Linked DNA regions of Homo sapiens: regions 2 and 3 are each linked to region 1. Evidence: promoter capture Hi-C in 16 types of primary human blood cells and fetal thymus (Javierre and others, 2016). All regions are on one chromosome and are shown on one strand. Each heading gives the region's core, a stretch centred on a gene start or on the middle of the fragment in contact. The rest is flanking DNA. Distances are from core to core; before and after follow the strand shown.

What was found. Contacts are between HindIII fragments. The CHiCAGO score rates a contact against its expected background, and 5 or more counts as called.
Region 2: a fragment that was not itself captured here is called in contact with the fragment with the promoter of ZNF140 in region 1 in 14 of 17 cell types (erythroblasts, total B cells, fetal thymus and 11 more); the score reaches 13.6 in erythroblasts.
Region 3: a contact is called between a fragment that was not itself captured here and the fragment with the promoter of ZNF140 in region 1, in 2 of 17 cell types (naive CD8 T cells and M0 macrophages). The highest score is 6.7, in naive CD8 T cells.

The regions. Positions count from the first base shown.
Region 1 is chr12:133,079,052-133,083,537 of GRCh38, reverse strand. ZNF140 (zinc finger protein 140) reads right to left here and starts at 2,615. Exons shown (of 5, transcript NM_003440.4): 1 at 2,466-2,615; 2 at 2,209-2,265; 3 at 309-435; 4 at 1-72. The coding sequence starts at 2,217. RefSeq lists enhancers at 2,627-2,826, 2,897-3,586. The HindIII fragment of the contact is 18,343 bases long and covers 1-4,486 here.
Region 2 is chr12:132,923,270-132,927,755 of GRCh38, reverse strand. It overlaps ZNF605 (zinc finger protein 605), which reads left to right. Exons shown (of 5, transcript NM_183238.4): 5 at 594-4,486. The coding sequence ends at 2,383. Among named protein-coding and RNA genes, the nearest start is that of ZNF605, 31 kb to the left of the region's middle. The HindIII fragment of the contact is 160 bases long and covers 2,499-2,658 here.
Region 3 is chr12:133,211,772-133,216,257 of GRCh38, reverse strand. ZNF268 (zinc finger protein 268) reads right to left here. Exons shown (of 6, transcript NM_003415.3): 6 at 1,426-4,486. Among named protein-coding and RNA genes, the nearest start is that of ANHX, 22 kb to the left of the region's middle. The HindIII fragment of the contact is 4,424 bases long and covers 5-4,428 here.

The sequences.
Region 1 (4,486 bases), core at 1,366-3,865:
CCCTTTTCCCCAGCCAGGGTTCTTTCCCTTGCTCCAATAAGGAAACCACATCTGGCTTAGAAATGGAAAGACCTGCTTGCAGAAAATGAAATAAATTCAAGATCAGTCATTGAATCCTAAGAGGGGCCACAAAGGAAATGTCAGATGTAAGTTTTTAAAATGTCTAAAAATAAGGTGCAGTTACGTCCCCATCTTAAAACTAATTTTAAGAAACCCCATACCTCTCTTGGGAATATTCAGCCAGATAATTATAACAGCCACCCTAACGGTCAAATTTTGCCTTGAGGGAGATGAAGAAGAATACTTACCCAGTGAGACCAGATGGCCATAGTTCTCCAACATTACACATCTGTACAAATCTCTTTGAGCAGGCTGAAGCCATTTCCACTCCTCCTGGGAGAAGTCTATGGCCACATCTCTGAATGTCACTGACCCCTGAAATGACGGACAGATATTTGCATGACCAGCACGCATGCCCCCAAACTCCCTCATCAAGGAATAAAATGAGTCTCACTGTGGAGGTTAGGCAATGTGTCTAAGTAGTAACAGTGAGAGTTTTCAGAATTCTGAGTAATTATATAATGAAGAGCCTAGCTCTTGTGTTTTGTTGTATAACTGGAGAAAAGGAGAAAAACATAAATTATCTGTCCTGAGATAATTTACAATTTTATTCAAAATAAAGGATTATACACATGAACAATATGGATTTTTGGCATTGGTTGTAAAAATTCTTAAGATTTTACAGTATTCCTTTATGTTAATAAACAATGTATATTTTCCTTAATACCAGCCTATTTTAATATAATTCAGCCAGAATTTCTTCAGGGTAATAATTCGCTACAGCAGATAACAGCACCACCCTTCAAATGGGGCATACAGTCTCAAGTTTGTCACAGTTATCCCTAATCCTAAAGAAATACCTGTGAAACTTAGTGGTAATTTTAGCAATGTCACAGAACAAGGAGGATAAGCAATAAAGAATCTTGATTCCGCAAGAAGAGAATGTAATACCTCCCAGGACAGAACCTAAAGCACTTTCCCTCAGAGTTAGGGGGAATAATATATAAGCCCTTGCTTTGCAGCCTGGTTTTGCACCACTTGAGTGATCCACATTGATCTATAAGGCATGAATGGGAATTTAAAATGTCTCAAACTAGTAGCAGTCCCAGATGGATGGCAGTTATAATTTACAGTTTTGAAGTTTAATAAAAAAGTGATTAAAGACTGTTGACTAATAAAGCAGCTGTTTCCTACACAGCAAGATCTGCAGCAGAGGTGGAAATTGGATTCCCCAGCAAAACTCAGAGAACCTCTGAATTTGGAGAGAAGTATGACAAAAAGTAGGATAAAGAAGTGGAACTGAAATGAGGGACTCATTTTGAATAGTTGACCCTGTTATCCCCACTGCTGTGAAGCACAATTACCAGCCAAGCCCTTAGGCCAAATCAAAATAAAAATGTGTTCCTTATGTCATGTCTGAAAAATGAGCTCTGAGGATTCGGAGATTTTGTTTTGGTCACTTCTGCATCCTCAAGACTTAGAATGAGTTGCACATTAGAATCACTTGGAAGGACTGTTAGACTGCTGGGCCAAATTCTCAGTTTCTGATTCAGAAGGTCTGGGGTAGGACTCAAGAATATTCATTTCTAATACGTTCTCAGATGATGCTGATACTGCTGGTCCAAGGATCACACTGTGGGAACCACTGAAAGTAGAGGTTCAGTAAAAACATATTGAATAAATGAATAAAGGGGCGCTGGAGTAACGTAAAGCACTCCTCATTCTAACACTGTGGGAAAGAGGAGGCGATGTAACAGCTGGCACCCTACCCTCTCACCCTAAAACATGCCAGCCAGGTCAGAAACCCCGCCCACATCTGGATAGCTTCCTGTCACTCTCTTCATGTATACTTAAGTATAAGCACCTGAAAAGGAGGAACAAGGGACAGGGTCCTGGGGTTCTGCCAGGCAGGTGGTTGTAGGAGAAAGAAAGCCACGTCCCAAGTCCTGAAAAACACGGCTGCACTTCACAAAGAAAAGCGGAAACAGGCCAAGTGGGTTGGCTCACTTGAGGCCAAGAGTTTGAGGTTACAGGATGCTATGATCGCTCCACTGCCTGGGCGACAGGAGGAGACCCTGTCTCTCTCTTAAAAAAAAAATAAAAATTTATATATATATATATATATATATTTATCAATCATTAGCTTACCTGAGACATAGCTCACAGAAGGGAAGGAGGAGATCAGAAAAGTGTAAAATGGCAGACCTGGCAGAGAGAGAAAGGAGCCCTGAGCGAACAGGCCAGCTAGGCCGCGCCCAAGTCACTAGATTCCCGCACTGGGGATTCCCGTGGCCCCCGCTCCGCGCCTCCCACGTAGAGAGCAGGGCGCCCTGAGAGATCGCGCTTGGACCACTGGCGCCGGCTTTCTCTTCCTGCCACGGCGCGCCTCCCCAGAACCCCCTCACCTAACAGTGGCCACAGAAGGATGCGTTTCCGTGGTGCTTTCCGCCAGGTGGGCGTAGCGTTCCAGGGCTCCGGACCGAGTCACCGCCCGGGGCCATCCGGCGCAGACCGGGAGGGCTCCTTTCGTTGCCTACAGCCAACACAGGCCAGACGCTCGGCGCCGCCCCCCAGGGCCCCTCCGCGGGCGTCGCAGGAATTGCGTCTTCAGAAGCCTCGCCGACGTCACCCCAACCAGGCCGCCGGCCTCAAGAAACTACAATTCCCAGAAACCAATGCGGCCCTGCGCGCAAGGGCTTTTCGTTCCTACTGGAACTCCCAGAGCGCCTCGCTGCCGTGCCCAGAACGCCAGGAGACAAAGAACGAGGGCCTGCGACAACTACAATTCCCAGAGCCATCGCGGCCCGGTGCGCCAGAGCATAGGGGCTATCCTCCCACGCCCAGAGCCGAGAAACAAAGAACCCGGGTCCTAGGCAACTACATTTCCCAGAAATAACCGCGGCCCCCCGCGGAAGAGTACACAGACCTTTGTGTTCCTATAACTGCCAGAGTGTCTCGCGGCCAAGCGCACAACTAGCGGAGAAACGAAGAACGTGGAACTCAGGCCACCACACTTCCCAGAAACAACCGCGACCCCGCGCGAGAGAGCATATGGCTTTCCCCGCCCCACTGCAACTCCCAGGGTGCTTTGAGGCCAAGCGCACATCATCGAAAGACAAAGAACACGAGCTTCAGGCAACTACACTTCCCAGAACCTCTAGCGACCGTGCGCAAAAGAGCGGAGGACGTTCTTCCCCTACTACGACTCCCAGAGTGCATCGTGGCCACGCCCAAAGCCGGAAGACAACGCAGAGCTCTGGCGACTACATTCCCCCAAACTCCTGCGCCGCACGCCAGAGGGTATAGGGTTTTCCTCCCCTACTACGACTCCCACAGTGCTTCGCTGGCGTGCACACACGGCCCAGAGACAAGGAACTGGAGACTCAGGTGACTACACTTCCCAGAACACACCGCGGCCCAGCAAGAGCCCAAGACCGCCTCTATTAAACAACTAGGATTCTTAACAACGACTGTGGAGTCAGTACTTCAGTCTAAGACCTTTTGCTACTGGAAAGGGGTCCGGATCTCAGACTCTAAGAGAGGGTTCTTGGATCTTGCACAAGAAAGAATTTGAGGCGAATCCATAAGGTGAAAGCAAGTTTATTAGGAAAGTAAAGGAATAAAGAATGGCTAATCCATAGGCAGGGCAGCCCCGAGGGCTGCTGGTTGCGCATTTTTGTGGTTATTTCTTGATGATATGCTAAACAAGGGGTGGATTATTCATGCATCCTCTTTTTAGACCATATAGGGTAACTTCCTGACGTTGCCATAGCCACTGGTGGGCAGTGAGGACAATCAGGTCGTTCTCATCGCTATCTCGGTTTTAGTCGGCTTCTTTACTGCAACCTGTTTTATCAGCAAGGTCTTTATGACCTGTATCTTGTGCCAGCCTCATGTCTCATCCTGTGACTACGAATGCCTTAACCTCCAGGGAATGCTGCCCAGCAGGTCTCAGCCTTATTTTAACCAGCCCCTACTCAAGATAGAGTTGCCCTGGTTCAACCGCCTCTGACAGTGGAAGACGTAGCAATGAGGACAGCCAGAAGTCACTCTCATTGCCATCTTGGTTTTGGTGGGTTTTAGCCGGCTTCTTTACTGTAAACTTTTATCAGCAAGGTCTTTATGACCTGTGTCTCATGCTGACCTGCTGTCTCATACTGTGAGTTAGAATGCCTAACGGTCTTGGAACGCAGCCCAGTATGCCTCAGCCTTATTTTACCCAGTTCTTATTTAAGATGGAGTTGCCGGGTGCTGTGGCTCATGCCTGTAATCCCAGCACTTTGGGAGGCTAAGGCGGGCAGATCACCTGAGGTCAGGAGTTTGCAATCAGCCTGGCCAACAGGCCAGAGTGTAACCTCGTCTCTACTAAAAATACAAAAATTACCTGGGCATGGTGGTGGGTGCCTGTATTCCCAGCTACTTGGGA
Region 2 (4,486 bases), core at 1,329-3,828, 160 kb after region 1:
GAACCCGGGAGGTGGAGGTTGTGGTGAGCTGAGATCGCACCACTGCACTCCAGCGTGGTGACAGAGTGAGACTCCCTCTAAAAAAAAAATAAGGCTGGGCGCAGTGGCTCACACCTGTAATCCCAGCACTTTGGGAGGCTGAGGCGGGTGGATCACGAGGTCAAGAGATCGAGACCATCCTGGCTAACACGGTGAAACCCCGTCTCTATTAAAAATACAAAAAGTAGCCGGGTGTGGTGGCACATGCCTGTAATCCCAGCTACTCAGGAGGCTGAGGCAGGAGAATTGCTTGAACCTGGGAGGCAGAGGTTGCACTGAGCCAAGATCATGCCACTGCACTCCAGCCTGGTGACAGCACGAGACTCCATCTCAAAAAAATATATATAAACAGTAAAAATAAAAGTTCATGTATTTAAACATTTGTAATTTAAAAGTTCATTTTCATTTCTGTTAAAATTGTCAATGCCCAATAAGTACACATTATTTGAGGGAATTTTAAAAACTGGGATTATGGCGCCATTTCAGAAGCTTTATGCAATAAGCATAATAATTGAAGGAATTACACAGTATGGTTCATTTTTTTCTCTTTTTAGAAGTCTGGCTAGATAATCCCAAAATGTGGCTCCGAGATAATCAAGACAACCTTAAAAGTATGGAGAGAGGCCATAAATATGATGTTTTTGGAAAAATATTTAATTCAAGCATAAACATTGTTCATGTAGGACTGCGATCCCATAAATGTGGCACAGGAGAAAAAAGTTTGAAATGTCCTTTTGATTTGCTTATTCCAAAAAATAATTGTGAAAGAAAGAAAATTGATGAACTCAATAAGAAATTATTGTTCTGTATCAAACCTGGCAGAACCCATGGTGGGATAAAATACTGTGATTGCAGTACATGTAGAAAATCCAGCAACGAAGAGCCATGGCTCACTGCTAATCACATAACACACACAGGAGTCTATTTATGCATGGAATGTGGCAGATTTTTTAACAAGAAGTCACAACTTGTTATACACCAGAGAACTCATACAGGAGAGAAGCCCTATCAATGCAGTGAGTGTGGAAAAGCCTTTTCACAGAAGTCACTGCTCACGGTTCATCAAAGAACTCACTCAGGAGAAAAACCGCATGGGTGCAGCGAATGTCAGAAAGCTTTTAGTAGGAAGTCACTCCTCATTTTACATCAGAGAATTCATACTGGAGAGAAGCCGTATGGATGCAGTGAATGTGGAAAAGCCTTCAGTAGGAAGTCGCAGCTTAAAAGACATCAGATAACGCACACAATAGAGAAACCCTACAGTTGCAGTGAGTGTGGGAAAGCATTCTCCCAGAAATTAAAACTCATCACACATCAGAGAGCGCACACAGGAGAGAAACCCTATCCATGTAGTCACTGTGGAAAAGCCTTCTTTTGGAAGTCGCAGCTGATTACTCATCAGAGGACCCACACAGGGAAGAAACCTTACGGATGTGGTGAGTGTCAAAAAGCCTTCAGCAGGAACTCACTTCTCATTAGGCATCAGAGGATTCATACAGGAGAGAAGCCCTACGAATGCAACGAATGTGGTGAAGCCTTCATCAGAAAACCACAGCTGATTAAACATCAGATAACTCACACAGGAGAGAAGAACTATCGATGCAGTGATTGTGAGGAGGCCTTCTTTAAGAAGTCAGAGTTAATAAGACATCAAAAAATTCACTTAGGAGAGAAACCATATGGATGCATTCAATGTGGGAAAACCTTCTTTGGGAAGTCCCAGCTCCTAACGCATCACAGAACACACACTGGGGAGAAGCCTTATGAATGCAGTGAGTGTGGGAAGGCCTTCACCCAGAAGTCAAGCCTGATATCACATCAGAGAACACATACAGGTGAGAAACCCTATGAATGCAGTGAATGCAGGAAAACCTTCAGTGAGAAGTCAAGTCTCATTCATCATCAGAGAACCCATACTGGAGAAAAGCCCTTTGAATGTAGTGAATGTAGGAAAGCTTTTGCCTGGAAGCCACAGCTTCTTAGGCATCAGAGAATTCATACAGGGGAGAAACCCTATGAATGCAGTGAATGTGGGAAAGCATTTGTTCAGAAAGTGCAGCTCATTAAGCATCAAAGAAATCACACAGGAGAGAAAACCTATGGATGCAGCGATTGTGCAAAAGCTTTCTTTGAGAAGGCACAGCTGATTATACATCAGAGAATTCATACAGGAGAGAGACCATATAAATGTGGTGAATGTGGGAAATCTTTCACAAGAAAGTCACACCTTATGAGGCATCAGAGGATTCATACAGGAGATAAATACTATGGATGCAATGAGTGTGGGACCACCTTCAACAGGAAGTCGCAGCTTATGATACATCAGAGAAATCATATAATATAAAAATCATGACTTTGGCGAATGCAGAAAGGTTGCTATCAAGTGTCATACTTTCTGACACTTTTGAGGATGCATGTGGGAGAGAAACCCTATTGAGGCAGTGACTGTTGAAAAAGCTTGAATTGAGGAGTCAAGAGTCACTAAGCAGAATTTAGAAAGAGAAGTTTTTAAAAAGCAAACAGTGTAAAAAAAGTCATCTCCCAGAAGACACTACTCGTTACATATTGGATGACTCATTGAGGTGAAAACCTTATTAGTGTTGTGATAGTAGAGAAGCTTTTAGTCAAAAGTCAGTTTATTAAATGTTTAGAATACCTAAACAGGAAGAAAATTCTATTGTTTTTTATAACAAAGTGGAAGATTTCAAGAAAGGACAACTCACTGTACACTTGAGAATAATACCTACAGAGGTTCATACTGAAGAGTAGTCTCAATAATGTAAAGAATTTGACAAGCATGATGCTATTGAAATAGTTCTGTAAGGAAGTGGTGTTCTTTATACATCAATTATTACAAAAAGCAGTGAATTGTAAGTGTGAGGTGTGTTTACTTAGATGTGAAGAGTTCTCCTTACTGCTGTGATGGAATAACAAGGGTCAGATTTCCTCTCCTGCCTTAAACAACTGGAAGCTATACAATACGTATAATAGGTAATGGTTTTTAGACATAGGACAAGCACAGGTTTGTGATCCTCAGGAGACTGCAGACAGAGTGAGGTGAGCACCATGGTTTCTCAGCCTGCCCCCGCATGGCAGTTCCTAGGTTGCAGTTCAGGGAAGGGAAACAATAAATCTCGCTGAATTGAAGAGACAGGACTGGCAGTTGGGGAGGCCACAGCAGCTAGAATTTCCAGGGGAAAGTACTGGAGAGATGGGATCCTTCTAGATACAGGGCTCAAGAAGTCTGCTGGGAGTCCCCTGAGTCCTTTGACTTAGTACTGACTTGCACTGAGGCCAGGAAAAGAAGCACTGGAAAGCAGCAGGCTGAACAATTCCTGGAACTCATGCAGGGCTGGGAATAGTTTATGTTCTCAGCAGCCAGAGTGGAAACAGAGTGGAAACACATGGAGCATCAGGTAGAATTCTCAGAAAGGTTTTGTTTTAGTAGTGCAGCTAATTAACTCTAGATTAAAAGCTACTCTGGACCTACAGTGTCCGGCATCCAAAAAAACTAATGTGTTATGCAAAGAAGCAATAAAATATGACTTATAACCAGGAGAAAAATCAGTAGAAACCCAGAAAAGACAGAGGTGATGGAATTAGTAGACAAGGATATTAAAAGAGCTATTGTAAATATAAAGTAGAGGAAAACATAAGATTGATGAAACCTGAGGTATAAGAGATATTTTTACTGGCCAAAATGGAACTTCTAGGGATGAAATCAACTTCTGATTTTGTTAAAATCCCGAGTGGAGAGATTAGATACAGAAAAAGAAGAAAAAATCAATGAACTTGAAGAGTAAGAATAAAAACTACCAAAGTGATATACAGAGAGAAAAAAAGACTTAGAGAAGAGGAAGAGAATAGGAAAACCATTACAGTAGTGTAATATATGTTTAACTGGAGTCCCAGAAGGAGAGGAGAAAATGAAGAGGCATGAAGAAGTATTTGAATAAATAATGGCTAAAGATTTTCCAAATCTGGTGAAAACAATACCCCCACATATTCAAGAAGCTCAAATGACCTGAAGTAGAATAAACATAATTTACATCACAGCAGTGCACCTCAGAGTCACATTCATGAAAAGCACTGATAAACAGAATACTTTTAAAACACCTTGAGAAAAAAAGATAATACATACACATGAACAAAGAATGGCAGCATATTTCTGGTGAGAACTATGCAAGCTATAAGACAATGGAGTATTATCTCTAAATTCCTTAATGAAATAAACAACAAACCCTGCAACCTAGAATTCTGTTACTGTCAAAAACGTTTTCAAAAATGAAGGCAAAATAAAGACTGTTTCTGAGAAACTAAATCAAAGGTAATTTTATTACCTGTAGACCTGTCTTTGGGAAACATTAAAGGATGTTTGAGGGCAGCAGGAAAATAATACAAAACTTAAGTTTGGGTCTGTACAAAGGAATGAAGTTCTGAAAATGGT
Region 3 (4,486 bases), core at 967-3,466, 130 kb before region 1:
AGCTTCAGTCTTCAGTAGCCTTCCTCCCTGTATGCATGTCTGTGTCCAAATTCCCCCTTTTTATAAGGACACAATCATAGTGGATTAAGGCTGGCTTTAATTACTTCATCTCACATTTATCATCTGCAAAGACCCTATTTCCATATAAGGCCGCATTCACAGCTACTGGGGGTCAGTACTTGAACATATGAATTTGGGGGATATAATTCAACCCCAGCAGTGTCTCTGTCTCTGCTGGTGATCACCATATCCCTGCTGGTGCCAAGTAATCATGGCCCCTCCCAGGGTGCCCCATCCTTGTACCTGGTGCTCCAGGCAGTTCACAGGAGGGCCTAACTGCTGGGTTTGGGGCTGGCATTGGGATCCCTTGCCCAGTAAGGGCTGGATCCAGACTGTTCTGGGGTTGAGGTGCTGGTGTTTTGAAGGCAGGAAAAACCAGAGGCTGGTCCTTCTCTGGACGGTGAACCACAGCAAGGGACCTCTCATGGGGGCTCCCATACCTCCTGTGACCTGGGCAGAAAGTCGTACAGTCCCAGGCCTCCAAAGGCAAAAGCCCCTTCTGACTCAGATAACATCCCTCCCACTCTGCTTGCCTGCAGAGCCCCGGAGGTTTCTGGGGAGCTTCAGTGGAGCTGAATCATCAGGGTTGAGGCAGGCCCTAGCATTGATCGTTAGCAACCAGAGAGTGGAAGCGGTGTAGATGGCAGCGAGTTGCAGGTGGCCTCAGTTCTAACTAAATATTACAATACTAGCATGATTCCACTTCCTGGAGCTGGCCTCTGGGGAGCCCCAGGCTGGTGTATTTATGATAGGGTCTGTGTGGCTCATGAGGCTTCACGTGGGACTTGGGCCATCTCATGACCAGACAAGTGCCCCCACAGCTGGGTTACCTCTGCTGTGTGGCCTGGACACAGGTTCATGTGACTCACAAACTTTGAGTGGCACCTGGAAACGAGGTTCTGGGCTGGAACCTGAGTGTGAACCTCACTTGGAGGCTGTGTGATTGCAGGTGAATCATTCAATCACCTGAGCCTGGCCCTCCCCTCTGCACAAGGAACTAGCCATACCTAGCAGATAGCTGTGAGTCACCTGAGCAAGATAGCTGCATGGTGATGGTCAGAAAACACTGATTTCTCCTTATTGAAATGGGACAACCCTTGGATACCACGTGCCGAGCTATGAATTCCAGCAATGCAAGTTTCAAAAGACCCTGTGTGCCCTAAGGAGGCACTGCTGATCACTTAGTGTCTGTGAAGGCATCAGAAGGTGACCTGGACCTGGAATGATGAAACAGCCATGGGTTTAGGAGCTGGCAGATGGTGTGGCTGGAGCACATGTCTGGAATGTGGTTGGCCAGGCCCAGGCAGCACTGGGCTATGGAGGGACTTAAATGTGAGGCTAAGAGGGCTGACCCTGGTGAGGGAATGCTGTGGACTAGATTTTTTTATTGAGGTAAAATTTACACAATATAAAATTAACTTTTAAAAATGTACATTTCTGTGACATTTAGTCCATGCACAACATTGTGCAGCCACCACCTCTTAGTTCCAAAATAGTTTCATCACCCCAAAGGAAATCCTCCATCCATTAAGCAGCTGTCACACATTTCATCCTCCCTCCGACCCTTGACAACCACCAATATGCTCTCTTTGGATTTACCCATTCTGGGTATTTCATATAAGTGGTATCATACAGTATGTGACCTTTTTGTGGCCAGCCTCTTTCTGCACATTGCTTTTATTTTTATCTTTGTAGACATGGAGTCTTGCTATGCTGCCCAGACTGGACTTGAACTCCCAGGCTCAAGCGACCCTCCCACCTCAGCCTCCCGAGTAGCTGGGATTACAGGTGTGTGGCCTTGTGCTGGGTTCTCAGCACAATGTTTCTGAGGTTCCTCCACGTTGTAGCAAGGGTCAGTCATAGCAGCTTTACCATTTTACAGCGGTGTTCACATTTCTCCACTTCTTTGTCAATACTTGTTTCTGGTTTGTTTTTAAAATAATAAGACATTCTGATGGGTATGGAGTGTTATCTCATTGTATTTTTGATTTATATTTCCATGATGGCTAGTGATGTTGAGTATCGTTTCATATGCTATTTGCATATCTTCTTTACAGAAAAGTCTCTTCAAGTCCTCTGCCCATTTTGATATTGGGTTGTCTTTTTGTTGTTGGGTTGTAAGAGTTCTTTATATGTTCTGGATACTAGACCCTTATCAGGTATATTATTTTACAGTGTCTTTTCTCCTATATTCACCTTTTTTTTTTTTGAGACGGAGTCTCGCTCTGTCGCCCAGGCTGGAGTGCAGTGGTGAGATCTGGGCTCACTGGTTCCAGGTTCACGCCATTCTCCTTCCTCAGCCTCCCAAGTAGCTGGGACTACAGGCTTCCACTACCAGCCTGGCTAATTTTTTGTATTTTTTTGTAGAGACAGGGTTTCACCACATTAGCCAGGATGGTTTCGATCTCCTGACCTCGTGATCCACCTGCCTCAGCCTCCCAAAGTGCTAGGATTACAGGCGTGAGCCACCACACCCGGCCTTTTTTTTTTTTTTGAGATGGAATTTTGCTTTCTTGCTCTGTCACCTGGGCTGGAGTGCAGTAGCATGATCTCGGCTCACTGCAACCTCCACCTCACAGCTTCAAGCGATCCTCCTGCCTCAGCTTCCTGAGTTGCTGGGATTACAGGCACATGCCACCACACCCGGCTTTTTTTTTTCTCTTTTTTTTTATTTTTAGTAGAGACGTGGTTTCACCAAGTTAACCAGGCTGGTCTCGCACTCCTGACCTCAAGTGATCCTCCCACCTTGGCCTCCCAAAGTGCTGGAATTACAGGCGTGAGCCACCACACCCAGCTCCTTTTCACTTTCTTGATAGTGTCCACTGATGCCGAAAGTTTTCAATTTTGGTGAAGTCCAATTTACCTATTTTTTCTTTTGTTTCCCATGCTTCTGGTGTCATATCCAATAAATCATTGCCAAATCCAGTGCCAAGAAGTACATGAAAAGATTTTCAACATCACTAGCCATTAGGTAAAGGAAAATCAAAACCACAATGAGATACCATTTCATACATGTTAGAGTGGCTATTATAAAAAATATGGAGGCCAAGTGCAGTGGTTCAAGCCTGTAATCCCAGCACTTTGGGAGGCCAAGGTAAGTGGATCACTTGAGGACAGGAGTTTGAGACTAGCCTGGCCTGGCCAACATGGTGAAACCCTGTCTCTACTAAAAATACAAAAAATAGCCATACATGGTGGCACATGCCTGTAATCCCAGCTACTCAGGAGGCCGAGGAAGGAGAATCACTTAAACCTAGGAGGCGGAGGTTGCAGTGAGCTGAAATGGTGCCACTGCACTCCAGCCTGGGTGACAGAGTGAAACTCCATTTCAAAAAAACCAAAAAACTATTTGGGTGTAGTGGCACCTGTAGTTCCAGCTACCCAGGAGGCTGAGGTGGAAGGATCCCTTGAGCCCAGGAGGTTGGGGCTGCAGTGAGTTATGATCATGCCTATGAAATGAGAGAGAAACAAACTAATTAATATTGGCAAGTATGTGGAGAAATTGGAAGCCTTGTGCACTGCTGGTGGAATGTAAAATGATAGTTGCACAATAATGGAAATAATGTACTTCATGCCACTGAAGTGTACACTTAAAAATAGTTAAAATGGTAAATGTTCTTATTATATATATGTGTATATATATGTGTATATGTGTATATATATGTGTATATATGTGTGTATGTGTGTGTGTATATATACATATATATATATATATATATATATATATATATATATATATATATATATATATAAAATCACACATGAAAGTCTCCCTTGGAACTGATCCTGAAATAATTTCATGTGTGATGAAAGAACACCCTGCTCTCCTGGAGTGATAAGTGGCCTTTTTGTTCATGCTGGCATTATACATCCCAGGCTCTTCCACACACACCCAGCATAATTTCACCAAGCAGAGGGAGTACACTCTCCAAAGGCCCATTTGTGCCTGTTTCTATCATTATATCCTCCTATTTAACTCACTCCCTGCCCTCTACAAACCGTCATCAATCACAGATATGTTTGCTACCCCTGTAGTTTCTGCTTTTCCATAACATCATAGAAATAGGATCATACAGCCTTTTCACACTGGTCTCTTTCACTTAGCAATATGCCTATCAGATTCATCCATGTCCTGCATGGCCTCAGAGCTTGCTCTTGCTGAACAGGACTCCATTGCATGGATGTACCCCAGCCTAGTTAGTCATTCACCTATTGAAGGTTATCCTGATTCCTTAAAGTATTTGTCTGTTATGAAAAGAGCTGCTGTACGTGAGTACATGCTGGGTTTTGTTTAGATCAAACTCCTATGTTTTCAAAGCAGTTATCTAAATACCTAGGAGTGTGATTGTTGGCTCATATTGTGAAGCTTTGTTTAGCTTTGGGGAAAAGTCAAACTATCTTCCAAAGTGGCTATACTATTATGCAT